Regions from separate parts of the Homo sapiens genome. Here regions 2, 3 and 4 are each linked to region 1. Evidence: promoter capture Hi-C in 16 types of primary human blood cells and fetal thymus (Javierre and others, 2016). All regions are on one chromosome and are shown on one strand. Each heading gives the region's core, a stretch centred on a gene start or on the middle of the fragment in contact. The rest is flanking DNA. Distances are from core to core; before and after follow the strand shown. Region 1 holds the start of SLC25A15 (solute carrier family 25 member 15). Region 2 holds the start of LHFPL6 (LHFPL tetraspan subfamily member 6). Region 3 overlaps COG6 (component of oligomeric golgi complex 6). Region 4 holds the start of VWA8 (von Willebrand factor A domain containing 8).

The links. The method cuts DNA at HindIII sites, captures the fragments that hold promoters and counts their contacts. A CHiCAGO score of 5 or more calls a contact.
Region 2: a contact is called between the fragment with the promoter of LHFPL6 here and the fragment with the promoter of SLC25A15 in region 1, in 3 of 17 cell types (M1 macrophages, total B cells and activated CD4 T cells). The highest score is 6.4, in M1 macrophages.
Region 3: a contact is called between a fragment that was not itself captured here and the fragment with the promoter of SLC25A15 in region 1, in 1 of 17 cell types (total B cells). The highest score is 5.0, in total B cells.
Region 4: a contact is called between the fragment with the promoter of VWA8 here and the fragment with the promoter of SLC25A15 in region 1, in 1 of 17 cell types (non-activated CD4 T cells). The highest score is 5.4, in non-activated CD4 T cells.

The regions. Positions count from the first base shown.
Region 1 is chr13:40,787,850-40,791,004 of GRCh38, forward strand. SLC25A15 (solute carrier family 25 member 15) reads left to right here and starts at 1,762. Exons shown (of 7, transcript NM_014252.4): 1 at 1,762-1,814. RefSeq lists silencers at 1,332-1,911, 3,044-3,155. The HindIII fragment of the contact is 15,217 bases long and covers 1-3,155 here.
Region 2 is chr13:39,601,879-39,604,860 of GRCh38, forward strand. LHFPL6 (LHFPL tetraspan subfamily member 6) reads right to left here and starts at 1,315. Exons shown (of 4, transcript NM_005780.3): 1 at 1,005-1,315. It overlaps LOC112268119 (protein SPT2 homolog), which reads left to right. Exons shown (of 4, transcript XM_035861111.2): 2 at 572-662; 3 at 766-1,764. RefSeq lists a silencer at 1,210-1,509. The HindIII fragment of the contact is 2,884 bases long and covers 1-2,574 here.
Region 3 is chr13:39,700,661-39,703,633 of GRCh38, forward strand. The region is part of intron 13 of COG6 (component of oligomeric golgi complex 6); the gene reads left to right. Among named protein-coding and RNA genes, the nearest start is that of MIR4305, 38 kb to the left of the region's middle. The HindIII fragment of the contact is 508 bases long and covers 1,123-1,630 here.
Region 4 is chr13:41,959,160-41,962,457 of GRCh38, forward strand. It overlaps VWA8 (von Willebrand factor A domain containing 8), which reads right to left and starts at 1,950. Exons shown (of 45, transcript NM_015058.2): 1 at 1,694-1,950. The coding sequence starts at 1,856. VWA8-AS1 (VWA8 antisense RNA 1) reads left to right here and starts at 2,010. Exons shown (of 4, transcript NR_039974.1): 1 at 2,010-3,075. RefSeq lists enhancers at 183-683, 684-1,184, 1,280-1,419 and a silencer at 1,620-2,029. The HindIII fragment of the contact is 5,183 bases long and covers 1-2,462 here.

The DNA.
Region 1 (3,155 bases), core at 512-3,011:
AGCTGCAAAAGCTATTGGACCAGGTGACATTGCCAACCCCTTTAAGCTGCTGTAACTGTAGTTTCAGCTGCTGGATCTGCTTTCAGTTAGTTATGTTCCCCATCACTTTGGACAAGTCATCCCAACTCCCTGGCTTGTTTTTGTAACTCGATTACAGTCCAGAAGCCCAAGTTCTAAAGTGCTGATTCTGATGAGTGTCCATGTACCAGGCACTCTGATCCCATCATAGCATCTACTACAGCCTGGGAGGTCTACTCAAGTGTGCATTCATGTTAAGCACTAACACCAATTAAATCACTTAAATAACGTAGGTAATTATCCAATAGCACATCCAGACGTGGTGGCTCACACGTGTAATCCCAGCACTTTGAGAGGCCGAGGCAGGCAGATCACCTGAGGTCAGGAGTTCGAGACCAGCCCGGCCAAGGTGGTGAAACCCTGTCTCTACTAAAAAATACAAAATTAGCTGGGTGTGGTGGCGCATGCCTGTAATCCCAGCTACTTGGGAAGCTAAGGCAGGAGAATCGCTTGAACCCAGGAGGGGGAGGTTGCAGTGAGCTGAGATTGCACCATTGCACTCCAGCTCGGGTGACAGAGTGAGACTCTGTCTCAAAAAAAAAAAGAAAAAAAAAGAAAAAAATAATAATCCAACAGCACATCTAAACAAGGCTTAAAGTTGTAAAATAAAATTACACTGTGTGGAGGGTGTGTGTGTGTGTGTGTGTGTGTGTGTGTGGGTGAGAGAGAGAGAGAGAGAGAGATGAGGTCTCTGTCATCCAGGCTGGAGTGCAACAGTGCCATCATAGCTCACTGCGGCCTCCAATTCCTGGCCTCAAGCGATCCTCCCGCCTTGGCCTCCCAAATAGCTAAGAATAGAGGCATGTGTCACCACACCTTTTTTTTTTTGTCGTTGTTTGTTTGTTTTTATGAAACGGAGTCTCGCTGTGTAGCCCAGGCTGGAGTGTAGTGATGCAATCTTGGCTCACTGCAACCTTCACCTCCCAGATTCAAGCGATTCTCCTGCCTCAGCCTCCCTAGTAGCTGGGGTTACAGACACGCACCACCACGCTGGATAAATTTTTGTAATTTTAGTACACGGGGTTTCACCATGTTGGCCAGGCTGGTCTTGGACTCCTGACCTCAGGTGATCCGCCTACCTCGGCCTCCCACAGTGCTGGGATTACAGGCGTGAGCCACCATGCCCGGCTAATTCCTGTATTTTCATACTTAGTTGTATTTCCTATTAGGGCCTTGGATCCCGAGTATAATTTTGTACTCAAATATAATTTATAAATAAGGCCTTAGCCTCCCAACAAGGTCAAAGTAGCTAAAAAGTAAGTCCTCCCAACCACTGACATTACCAGCCCCCAGCCCCCAGTCCCAGCCCAGCGGGCTAACAAGGGTCCGGCCTCAGAGAGGGTCTCGGGGATCCCAGAGGTGGGAAAGTCTCCGGAGGCGCAGGCCCCGCTCTCCACCTTCACCAGGGTCGGCGGCAGCACCACGCCGGGTCGCGGGCTGGCTGTGCGCGCCGCGGCCCCACGCCCACTTCCGCTTCCCGTGCTGGGGGCGGTGGCAGGGCCGGTGGGCGGTGGCGGCTCCCGGTCTCGGCTCGGGCACGGCCCTGGGCAGGCCGCCCGCCAGCCGCAGGGGCGCTCCTGAGCTTCGCGGGGCCGCAGTCCGGGATGCCTGCGCGAAGGGAGGGGCGAAGGGCCGGCCGTTGCCGACGTGGGTGTTAAGTGGCCGCCCCAGCCGGCGACCCGGAGCCGAGAGCGGGCGGCGGAGCCTGAGCTGGACGCGGCCACGCCGGCGCGGCGGTGAGCGCAGCCCGGTCTGGCGCCTGCAGCTGCGGGGAGCGCGCCAGGCAGAGGGAGCGGGGAGCGGGGCGCGGGGCGGGCCTCGGTGTGCGGGCGGCGTGACCTTCCCGAGCGGCGGGGGAAGCGGCCAGCGTCGCAGCGCACGTGCCGCGGGACTCGGAGAATCTCGGGGTTGTCGGCCTCCTTCCTGCAGTGCCCACCTGGTGGGAACTTTTGTCCTTGTTTGCCCCCAAGTCCTGTCATTTGGCTGCGGGGCTCCGCGCCTCAGGGGCGCCAGTGCTGGGCAGCATGGAGCCGCTTGTGAATGGAGACTTGCTGGCTGCCCAGGAGTGGGCGGCTGGGCAGGGGCGGTGAACGTTTAGGGTCCGGCCAAGAAAGTTGGAAGTCGTCTCCCTGACCTGTTCCTTGCGAGGCCCGGGAGGAGACGCGCCTGGCCGGTCCTTGGCGGCGAAACTGATTTGCATCTCCACGCTTTACCTAAAGCCCGGGCTCTGGGGACTGGATGGCGAGCTGGCCTGCGGCTCCTTTAGCCAGAAGCTGGGATCTTCCCGCAGCAGTTCGTGTTCCCTGGTGGAAAATGCAGCCTCATCTACTGACTCTCCCTTCCAAAAAAAAGTTATTTTCCCCAAGGGTCGAGAAAAGTGGGTGGTCGGCACTGTTGTTCCTCAGTTGCACCCTGGTGTAATTTGAGAGAGGGGTCAAAGGCGCTGAAAAGATTCTTTTTTCTATTCCAAGTGCTACAGCAAGCTCATAAATCAATTTTAATTCATGCTGAACAGTCTTGCCTCCTCCAAGCCCTGTGTCTTCTCCAAGCCAGAGCTACACATAATGTGAATTAGCTGCCCACTCCTTCTGAGTGAATCTGTTAGTACCCATCATCGTTTTCTATCCTAATAATTCTAATGGCTATTTGTAGAATTTATTTGTTTGTTTATTTTTTTGAGACGGAGTTTCGCTCTTGTTGCCCAGGCTGGAGTGCAATGGGGCGATCTCGGCTCACCGCAACCTCCGCCTCCTGGGTTCAAGCTATTCTCCTCCCTCAGCCTCCCGAGTAGCTGGGATTACAAGCATGGCCCACCACGCCAGGCTAATTTTGTATTTTTAATAGAGACGGGGGTTTCTCATGTTGGTCAGGCTGGTCTCGAACTCCCGACCTCAGGTGATCCGCCCGCCTTGGCCTCCCAAAGTGCTGGGATTACAGGCGTGAGCCACTGTGCCTGGCCTATTTGTAGAATTTAATGTGTTTAAGTTTGGCTCACCTAACAGGGTTTAATTCTTAGGGACAGATAGAATGTAATGTGATGTGACTTTCCTTCAAAATTAAGAAGGAAGTGTCTGTGC
Region 2 (2,982 bases), core at 65-2,564, 1.2 Mb before region 1:
TGCAGAGTACCATAAATTTAACAAGCATTATGGTCTGCGGAGGCACCCACAGTACAGAACTATTACCAGACACTCTTTGTACTCATTCAGCAGCATTTCAGAATTTCTTTAGTCTTAACATCTTCTAGTGTAAAAGAATGCCTGTGTATGACTTATTTTGAGTCTGCAGTTTTGATTCATTGATTCCAACAGTTCTATTGCAATCATTTCTCCCACTGAATGATTGTCTAATTTGAACAGCAATCCATACTTCCCAGTATGCTACATCAAACCCCAGTCATCCAAATGGTTCCAGGGGCATCTACTTCCACCCCAGCCTTTCAAAAAGAGTTCCTTAACCATTTCTCACACTTTCCATAAAGAAATGAATACAGAAGCACAGAGCCCATCCACCCTAGAATTCCACCCCCAGGACCCCTAACTCCAGCTTTCAGGGTCCATAGCAAATTTCCCCCTTTCTTCACCTCGCCCCTACCCGTTTTTTTCTCTAACCACCGCCCATTTTCAGTTCTGGATGTCACTCAAACGGGAGGTCGGCTACTACTTTTTTTTCTAATCTTGTCAACTGCAGTCAGGGCTGAAGTTGATCTATCTGGGCCACGAGGCTGGGGAAGACCAGCAGGGGGTGGCCTGCGGGCAGGGGGCCCCCATCTCCAACTGCGGTGAGGCGCCCTCGCCAAGACAAGCCCATATTTAGCCCCCTGCCATTGCCTCACCGAGCCACTCCACCCATGGAGACACACAATGATCCCTCCATTCTAAAAGGGGGCAAGAGGCATTTTCCAGCCGGCTCTGGACGAAGGGAGGGGATAAGGATGGGAAGGCAGCACCCCCCGGAGGCAGACGCCAAGAGCGGACGCGGCTGGCAGGCAGAGCCGACGGATCCGCCGAGCTCAGGAAGTCCGGAGCCCGGGAGCAGCCCAACTCCGGCTCCGGGGCAGAGAGGGAGCCCGGGAGAAAGCAGCGGAGCCCACGCCCACGGGGCAGCCGAGTGATTTACTTACATGGCTGGCGGGCGGCGGCCACCTTCCCTCCCGCGTCCCGGGCGCACACACAACTTGCTGTCTTTCTCGGGCGGGAACATCCACGGGAAACCGGACCGTCCTGCCCTTCTTTGCCTCTGTCCCTAACAGCCGCAGAACCCCGGGGCCCGACCTGGAAGAGCAGGGGTTGGCAGGAGGCGGAGGGTCTCCAGAAGCGGGCTGGCACCAGCGGAGACCCCCACTCCCGGCGAGTCCGCGGCGGCAGCTCTGGCGGAGCGCTGTGGGCGCGCGCGGGCGCCGGGGATCGCACGCAGAGGAGCGGATCTCCCTTTGGCAGGCGAGGCACGCACCGCCTCCTCCCCTCCGCTGCCCGGCCCTCCTCTTTCTCCAGTCCCCTCCCCTCGCGCCCCGGGGAACTCCGCGCAGACAGACCCAGGACGCACCGGGGACGTTCCTGGAGCGCCGGGAAGGGAGTGGGGGGGTGCCCCGCTGTCCGCGCGGGTCCAGGCCCACCCCCGGGGGCAGCTTTCGCGGCTCCTCCCCTAGCCCCGAGCCCCCTCGCGCCCCCTCTCCCTGCGTCTCATTCAAAGCTGAGTGGGGAAGGCAGACAGACCGAGAAGTATGGGAGAAAGTTGCTTGTCTTCCTGGGTGACCCCGAGGAGCCACGGAAGATGACACACTTTGCCTGTTGGGGCTTTTCTGGGTTTACTGTTCGGGTTTATGCTCCTGTTTTCCTGCCGCCGTTAAAAGAAGCCGTAGACGGGAAAGAGGGCCTTAAAGAGTGGGTAAAGTGGCCCCTTTGAGATTTGAGGAGGCTTTTGAGAAGTGGTCACTTTGGAAGGCGGTGAATGAGGCGGTTGTGGACGTGGGAATTAAAGCACAGCAGACAGCCCAAGGCTCATGTATGGCATGGGGGCAGCTGCCTTTCCAGACGAGCCAGGGAGAAGGCAGGGGCGGACCTCTAGCGAGCCTCTCCCAAGAGATACACTCTTTCAAAGGTCTCTCTCTCTCTCTCTTGCTGTTTCTCTGTCTCTCTCTCCCTCCCTCCCTCCCTTTCCCTTCACTTCCTCCCTCCCTTCTCCTCCATCCTGCCTCCTGATCAATTTTGCAATTTATTCCATCGTTTGATTTCTTTTCTGAGAAACAACTGATTTTTAGTTCCCCTCTGGACTTGAGGACTTTTTCCACTTGTCATTAGCACTAACCCCTTTAGAAGTTTAGAGCTAGATTCAGTAGATGACTGTGGGAGTCTCTGCTGAACACAGTATTTTAAGAAGTATGCCATCTGGGAACAGCAGTTTTTGAAGTAGACAGTTTCCCAGATATAGTTTTTGTGAGGTGTCTTTTTAGAGGAGTTGAAAGTAATAAATTGGTAGGTATATATTTCATAGCAGATTTTCAGACTGCACCATTTTAATTAGCCGTGATGGTGTACATTTTTCCCACAACGACAGCTGGAGATATGTGTTCTTTTATTATTATTTTGAAAGACCTTAAGTGATTGATTCCAAGCCTTTTGAGGTCACAGGTCTTTTAAAAAATACGATGAAACTGATAAGCCTTCCAGAAAAAAAAATGCGCGGACATATAAAGCTTTACCACAGCGATTCTGAAGAAGGAAAGGGATATTTGGCAAGGTCTGAAGATAATTTTGATTATCATAACCCATGAATGGGGAGTATTACTGGCATCTAGTTGGTAAAGACCCGAGATTCTGCTAAATACAGTGCACAGGACAGTCCCCAAAATTACCTGGGCCAAAATGTCAATCATTTGAATGAAATATCAGGTGGTTTCCCATTCCCTTAAAGCCCATCCATGAATCCCATATTCAGAATCCCCAATTTAAGTGTTTTTGTTTTTGGTGTTGTTGTTGAGTTTAAGTTGTTTTAACTCTTCTCTTACAAATCACCGGTTACTGGTTTCAGTGACAGCATAAGAATGATTGGTCTGACTTCCAGTTAGGTACCACACCCTTAGTTATTACACAGAGCCTTCA
Region 3 (2,973 bases), core at 127-2,626, 1.1 Mb before region 1:
GGATGAACACTCAACATCTGTTGGCCTCATTAAGGTTGCTTTTCCTTTAGTGGAAAATGACCAAATAAGTCTGGTTATTATAGAATTCTATGATTTATGAAAGACATGTGCCTAGGGTATATGCTAGCACCAAAGGAGGAGTATATTTAGCAAACTTATCTGTACTCCTTTACAGAGAGGAAGCTTTCCATAGAGAGATGTAATGGAGTTGAACTTTGAAGAACAGGTAGGCTTTAGATAGGTGAGGAAAGGAGTGCATAGAGGTCATCTTAAATAGAAGAAAGAAATAGAATATGCTAGAACATGAGTATGAGTTACCTATAAAAGAATTTTTCATTTATTAAAAAATATCACTTGTAAAGTGATGTGTTTTATATATATAAGTGGGGAGGCTAGGTTGGAAATAGGAAAATTAAAGGAGTATTGAAACTGTTTTTATTCATACATGATCTAAGGGAAAGACTCTGGGAATAGGCAAGAGGGGACAGATTCATGAAGGGTAAAGGTAAAATCTTCAAAACTTGATGACTGAATGTGGGTTAGTGAGAGGGAGTCATCTAGAATAATTCCTAGGCTAATCACAAATATCTAGAATGCAGAAAGAGGGTACAATTTGGGAGATAAAGATGGTATCATCTAAGTTAGATAAGTTGAGTTTGAGGTGCCTATGAGAGATCCCTCTGGAATTGGTCTAATCTAAAAGGGAGTGATACATTTGGATTTAGAGAGTTTTACATATAAGAGATAGTTGAATTCATGGGTTTGGATGAAGTCACTAGGAATAATTTTTTTTATGAGTAGAGCTACCAGGACACAGTCTTGGGAAACACTGACGTTTAAGAGAAGGAAAAACGTCAACAGTATGATGCTGAGAGAGGATGGCCAGAGAGGCAGGACAAAAATTAGGATAAGGTTTTATCAGAAAAGCCAAGAGAAGACAGTTTCTAGAAGGAGGGCATGGTTAATAATGACAGATGCTTTTAAAGAGTTCAAGTAGGAGGCTTGTTATCTTTGGCAATATATATGTGATAGGTGACCTAAATGGGCAATTTTAGTCCTGTGGTGGAGATAGGAGCCAGGTTGTAGTACGTAGAAAAGTTCATGGGTAAGCATATTACCCAAAGCTTTACCAATTAGAAAACATATGGGCCTCAAGACTGAAAATAGATGCATTAGGCGTTTGTATTAAAAAATTTGAAACAGAGCAATAAAATGAAGATATATGGAAAGGATGGAATTAAATTTCCGTGACAAATTAGAAAACAAAAGCAGAATTATTTGTTGAAAAGATAAACAAAATTGACAAACTTCTAGCAAGTCTAATCAAGAAAAAAAGAAAATTAGAAGTTTTTAGAAATTAGAGACAATCCACAGATGAGAATTAAAACTTAGAGAGTACCATGTGCAGTTTTGTGCTAATCATCTGAAAATCAGAATAAGATGAATGCTTTTTAAGGTGACATAAATTGGTAAAATGTGAGTCAAAAGGAAGTGGAAAGTGTGAATATACCTAAGGAAGGAAGAAAAGTTATTAAAGAACGTGTTGCCAGGCCTAGTTCAGATTATATAGAGAACTTCATTCATCCTTAGGAGGAACAGATAATTCTCCAGAACATGAAAAAATATGGAAAGCTTCCCAGTTTGTTTTAGGTAGTATAACACCGACATAAAACCTTTTAAAGATAGTCAGTAGTGGAAACCATAGATTAGTCACTTTTTAAGTTTTAAAACTTCAAAATTCAGCATTTATATATTAAAACCAAGAATGGTTTATTACATGAATATAAGAATGTTTCAGTGTTAGGAAATATACTAAATGAGTATATAAAATAAATTTTATATTCTCATATTTGATCACATTGGGGAAAATCTTAATATTAAAACAAGTCATTGATGAATACTTCCTTAACCATATAAAGAGAGATAAAACTAACAGCCAACATCATAATTAATATTGACACACTAGTGGTTCTTCTATTTAAGTGAAGAACAAGAATGCTTGCCAATACTTTTAAATAATAACCACGGTAGAAAGATGAGATAAAGAAATGAATTGTAAATATTTTAAAGGAGGAGACATTAGATTATTTATGGATGTTATGATAGTCTATTTTGAAGACCTAGGAGAATCAACTAAAAAGCTATACAACCAGAAAATGAATTCTAGTGAAGTCGTTGGTGAAAAGATCAATATACAAATGTAATTAATTTTCTTATATACCAGCTCATGAGGTGCTCAATAAATACTGGTAACATGAATGGTTCAGTTCATTTTCTGCTGGCCTATATTCCATCACTATCTTGCCATTAGCTTTAAATCTCTTGCACCCTTGCCATTTTACCACATTCACTTTGCAAAACCACCTTGAGTTAATTCAATTTTTCAATTTTTCCTGAGCTCTGCTAAAGAAAATTACATCATACAGACAGGAATCACTAAAAATTGTCTCCAACATCAGGAAAGCCCCCCAGGAGGTCCAGCAAATACTGATTGTCCTTTGGCAGCCACTCACATTTACCTCACTTATTTTCACCCATTTCCTCAAATCTACCATACTACCTCCTACTGAAAAAGTGCCAACTCTTGCTAAAACTGGATAATGGACATTAAAAAAAAATCTTTACCAACATGACGAGCAAAAGCGACATTTTGTTGTTTTTCTCATTTGGATTTCTGTGATTCTAGTGAGAATGAACATTTTAAGATATGTTTTTGGCTGTTTGTGAATTGCTTGTTCAAGTCCTTTGCCATTTTCCTATTGGGTTGTCTTGTTCATTTCTGATATTCTTTATGCATTAAGAATATTAACTCCATCATATATATTACAGACATTTTCTCCACGTTATCATTTGCCTTTAAAATTTGCCTGTAGTATTTTCTGACACATCAACTTTTAATTTTTTTATAGTTCAATAGAACTTTTTTTATAGTTTTTTTCCCTTGGGAGCATTCCATGCTTGAAAGTATTCCCA
Region 4 (3,298 bases), core at 700-3,199, 1.2 Mb after region 1:
CTTTTATTGAGCATTAATATGTGCCACAGATTATATTAATTAATAAATCCTCACAACAACCATAATAGATATATTCTTCTTATCCTTTTACAGTTAAGAAAACTAGGACACAAAGTTAAGTAACCTACCCTCAACGACCCATGGTTAGATAGTGGATAAGTGGATTCCAACCCAAATTGTTTAACTCCAAAACCCAACCTATAGTTTATGCTATACTTCCACCTTTGACCTCTGCCTTCTAGGGCAAAGGAGCAAAAAACAAATAAAGAACACACAAAAAATGTAAAAAACAAATGAATAAACAGCCCAGAAGTGAGAGTAATTGAGAAAAAGCAAAAAAAAAAAAAAAAACAAAAAGTAAAATTTGAAATTGCAACACTATGGTGGGGGACGGGGGTGGTGTATGTCTTCAATGAATAAAACGAAATACGTGGGACCTAAATATGCTTTTTTTTTTTTTTTTTTTGAGATGGAGTCTTGCTCTGTCGCCCAGGCCGGAGTGCAGTGGCTCCGGTCACTCCAAGCTCCGCCTCCCGGGTTCACGCCATTCTTCTGCCTCAGCCTCCGGAGTAGCTGGGATTACTGGCGCCCGCCACCACGCCCGGCTAATTTTTCTGTATTTTCTTTTTAGTAGACACGGGGGTTTCACCGTGTTAGCCAGGATGGTCTCGATCTCCTGACCCCGTGATCCGCCCGCCTCAGCCTCCCAAAGTGCTGGGATTACAGGCGTGAGCCACCGCGCCCGGCCCATATGCTCATTTCTTAGCAAGGAAAACTGGGGGTTGCGGGGAAAATGCAAGAGGACAACGAAACCTACAATTTCATAGTGAAAACCTGTTATTCCAAGCAGCACTGACATTGACAAAATCTTGTCTGGAATCACTTCACCATTCAAGGGTAGCAACAACAGATATCCTTTCCTTAACCATCACAGTAACTCTAACTCCACCAACACACAAGAAAAAGAATTCCTAAAACCAGCTCAAGTAGAGCCAAAAAATACTGAGCTTAGAAATCAAAGCATGTGATTCTAGCATAGTAATTAGTTGTGTGTTCTCCAGCGAATCACTTTTCCCTTCTGGGTTTCAATTACCTCATTTGTAGAGGCAAGTGTTTTAACTAAATTAAGGTGTAACTGTCAGCTCTAAGAATTACGTGAAACTTTAAGGAAAACTCCTGTAAAACTTGGAAAGGCTCGGGGATGCATTTAAAACACCGTGAACTATGGGTTCTTTGGCAAGAATGTTCCCTTCTAAGCCGCCACAAGCCCTGGCTAGAACATGACACAGACCGGCTTCCAGGCCCTTGAGGCTCAGAGAGCAAGGTCAAATCCAGCTTTCAATAATTCCATAGGGCTGAGGCATTAACCTCTACGAGTATTATAACCTAAGTCAGAATTCTGGGGGTAAAGGCAGCGGCAGGGGAAGGAGAAATCACTCTTCTAGGTCATCAGAAACCTTAGTCCAGACCCCTCGGGTTGCAGAATCAGGCACAGAGAGGGCGAGCGCCTTGCCCCCACGTTACACAGCAGTTAGCGCCGAGGTCGGGACTAGAACCTCAATCTTTCAGCTCCCCGCTCGGCAAACGGTCCTTCCAAGCGCAGCGAAGCAACAGAGAGGAGGGGCGGGGGCGCGCGGGGACCCGGCACGGAGCGCAGGGGCACCAGGGAGGACAGGGGCGCACCCCGAGTTACCTGTGTCGGCCCCCGAGCCGGCGTGCAACAGTCTGACCTCCGGCCGCTGCCTGTCGCCACCCGGCCTGCGCTGCACCACCTGCCGCAGGAGCAGCCGCATGCGCCGCGAGGCCGGGCCGCCGTGGCCTCCGGGTGCCCCGAGGAGTAGAAGCCGGGATTGCATGGCGCCGGGGGGGCTGTCGGGGACGGCGAGGGGGCTCGGGGATCGAGCGGCGTCCCGTGCAGGCACCGTGAGGCAGCGCGGAGAAGGGGACAGGAAGCGGCACCTAGCCGAGTCCGCCGGAAACTCCTTCCCCCGCGGCGCGGCCGGCTCAGTAGACTCAGCCCGGCCCTACCCGGCCCTGCATGGCCCAGACGGGCGGAAAGAGCCTGCGGAGCTCCAGCCCAAAGAGCCGGCACCGTCCCGGGACTGCCCGCACCGCGGGGGTGCTCCGAGCTGCGGCGCTGGGCTCTGGCAAGCGCCTCGCAGTCCGTGAGACTGTCTGTTCACCTGGATGCACCAGGCCTTCACCCGCCGTTTCCCTGCGATCCCACAGAATCTCAGGAGTTCAGTAAATGCCAAGGGTTTTAGGAGCATTTGTCGGTGTGACTCTTCAGATGCTTGCCCCAAGTCTTCGTTTCTTAGTTAAAGGCCCAGTAAGTATAGGGAGCTTTCCCTGTATTCGGCTTCAGATTTCGGAAATGGAGAAAACATGCACAAGATGATGGGAACTTTCACAACTGTCTTGATTCATTGTAACCACACTAGTGTTTCCAAACCGTACGTGAAAGCTTTACCCTTTGTCCTTTTGGTGGTGGTTGTTTGTTTCTGTGTTTTATTACCGCTTCCTAAATTCTAAGGAAAAAATTCACATCTTAGTGATAGATGGAAATTGCTTAAATATCAGAAAGGATCCAGATCAAGCACTTTTCTAGTCATGCTGTAATACAAAAGTTATATAAAGATGATTTATGTCTTTAGTAAAGGAAAAAGTAGGACACTGGCTAAGGCTGCCTCCCTCTTGTACATTCCAACATCGGAAATGGTCCTACCACAAAGCAAACTAAGCCTAATGTAATTAGACTGCATCCCCAAAATGTCACAGTGAATTGACTAAGGCAAAATATTTGAGACAAGTTATACAAGCAAACATCAAAAAGAAGGCAGAAGACCTCACTTTCAGCTAAAGACCTTGCTAATTCTAGAGCTGCCACTGTCTAAATACATAGCACCTACCCTGCGCCTGACCCTGTGATGAGTGCTGAGAAGAGAGTGTTAGAGTGGAGACTGTAAAAGTCAAACAAGGCTAGGTAAGGAAGGCTTTGGGCATCCAGCGGAAGAACTTGAGGAATGAAGGCTGAACCAGGCTTCTAACCTAGATGAGGAGACAGTGAAAATAAAGGTAATAAGTAGTTACACAATATATTATGACTTCGTTTCATGTGTATCTTCTCATTTAATCCTCATAGCAACCCTAAGACATAAATTTAGGATGTAAGCTTATAAAATGCTTTTCCTACTTTGAGCACATTGTATGTATCAAGATTTTAATGAATTATCCCATTTCACATAAAAATGCTTTGAGGTACTATTATTATCCTCCGTTTTACAGATGAAGAAACTGA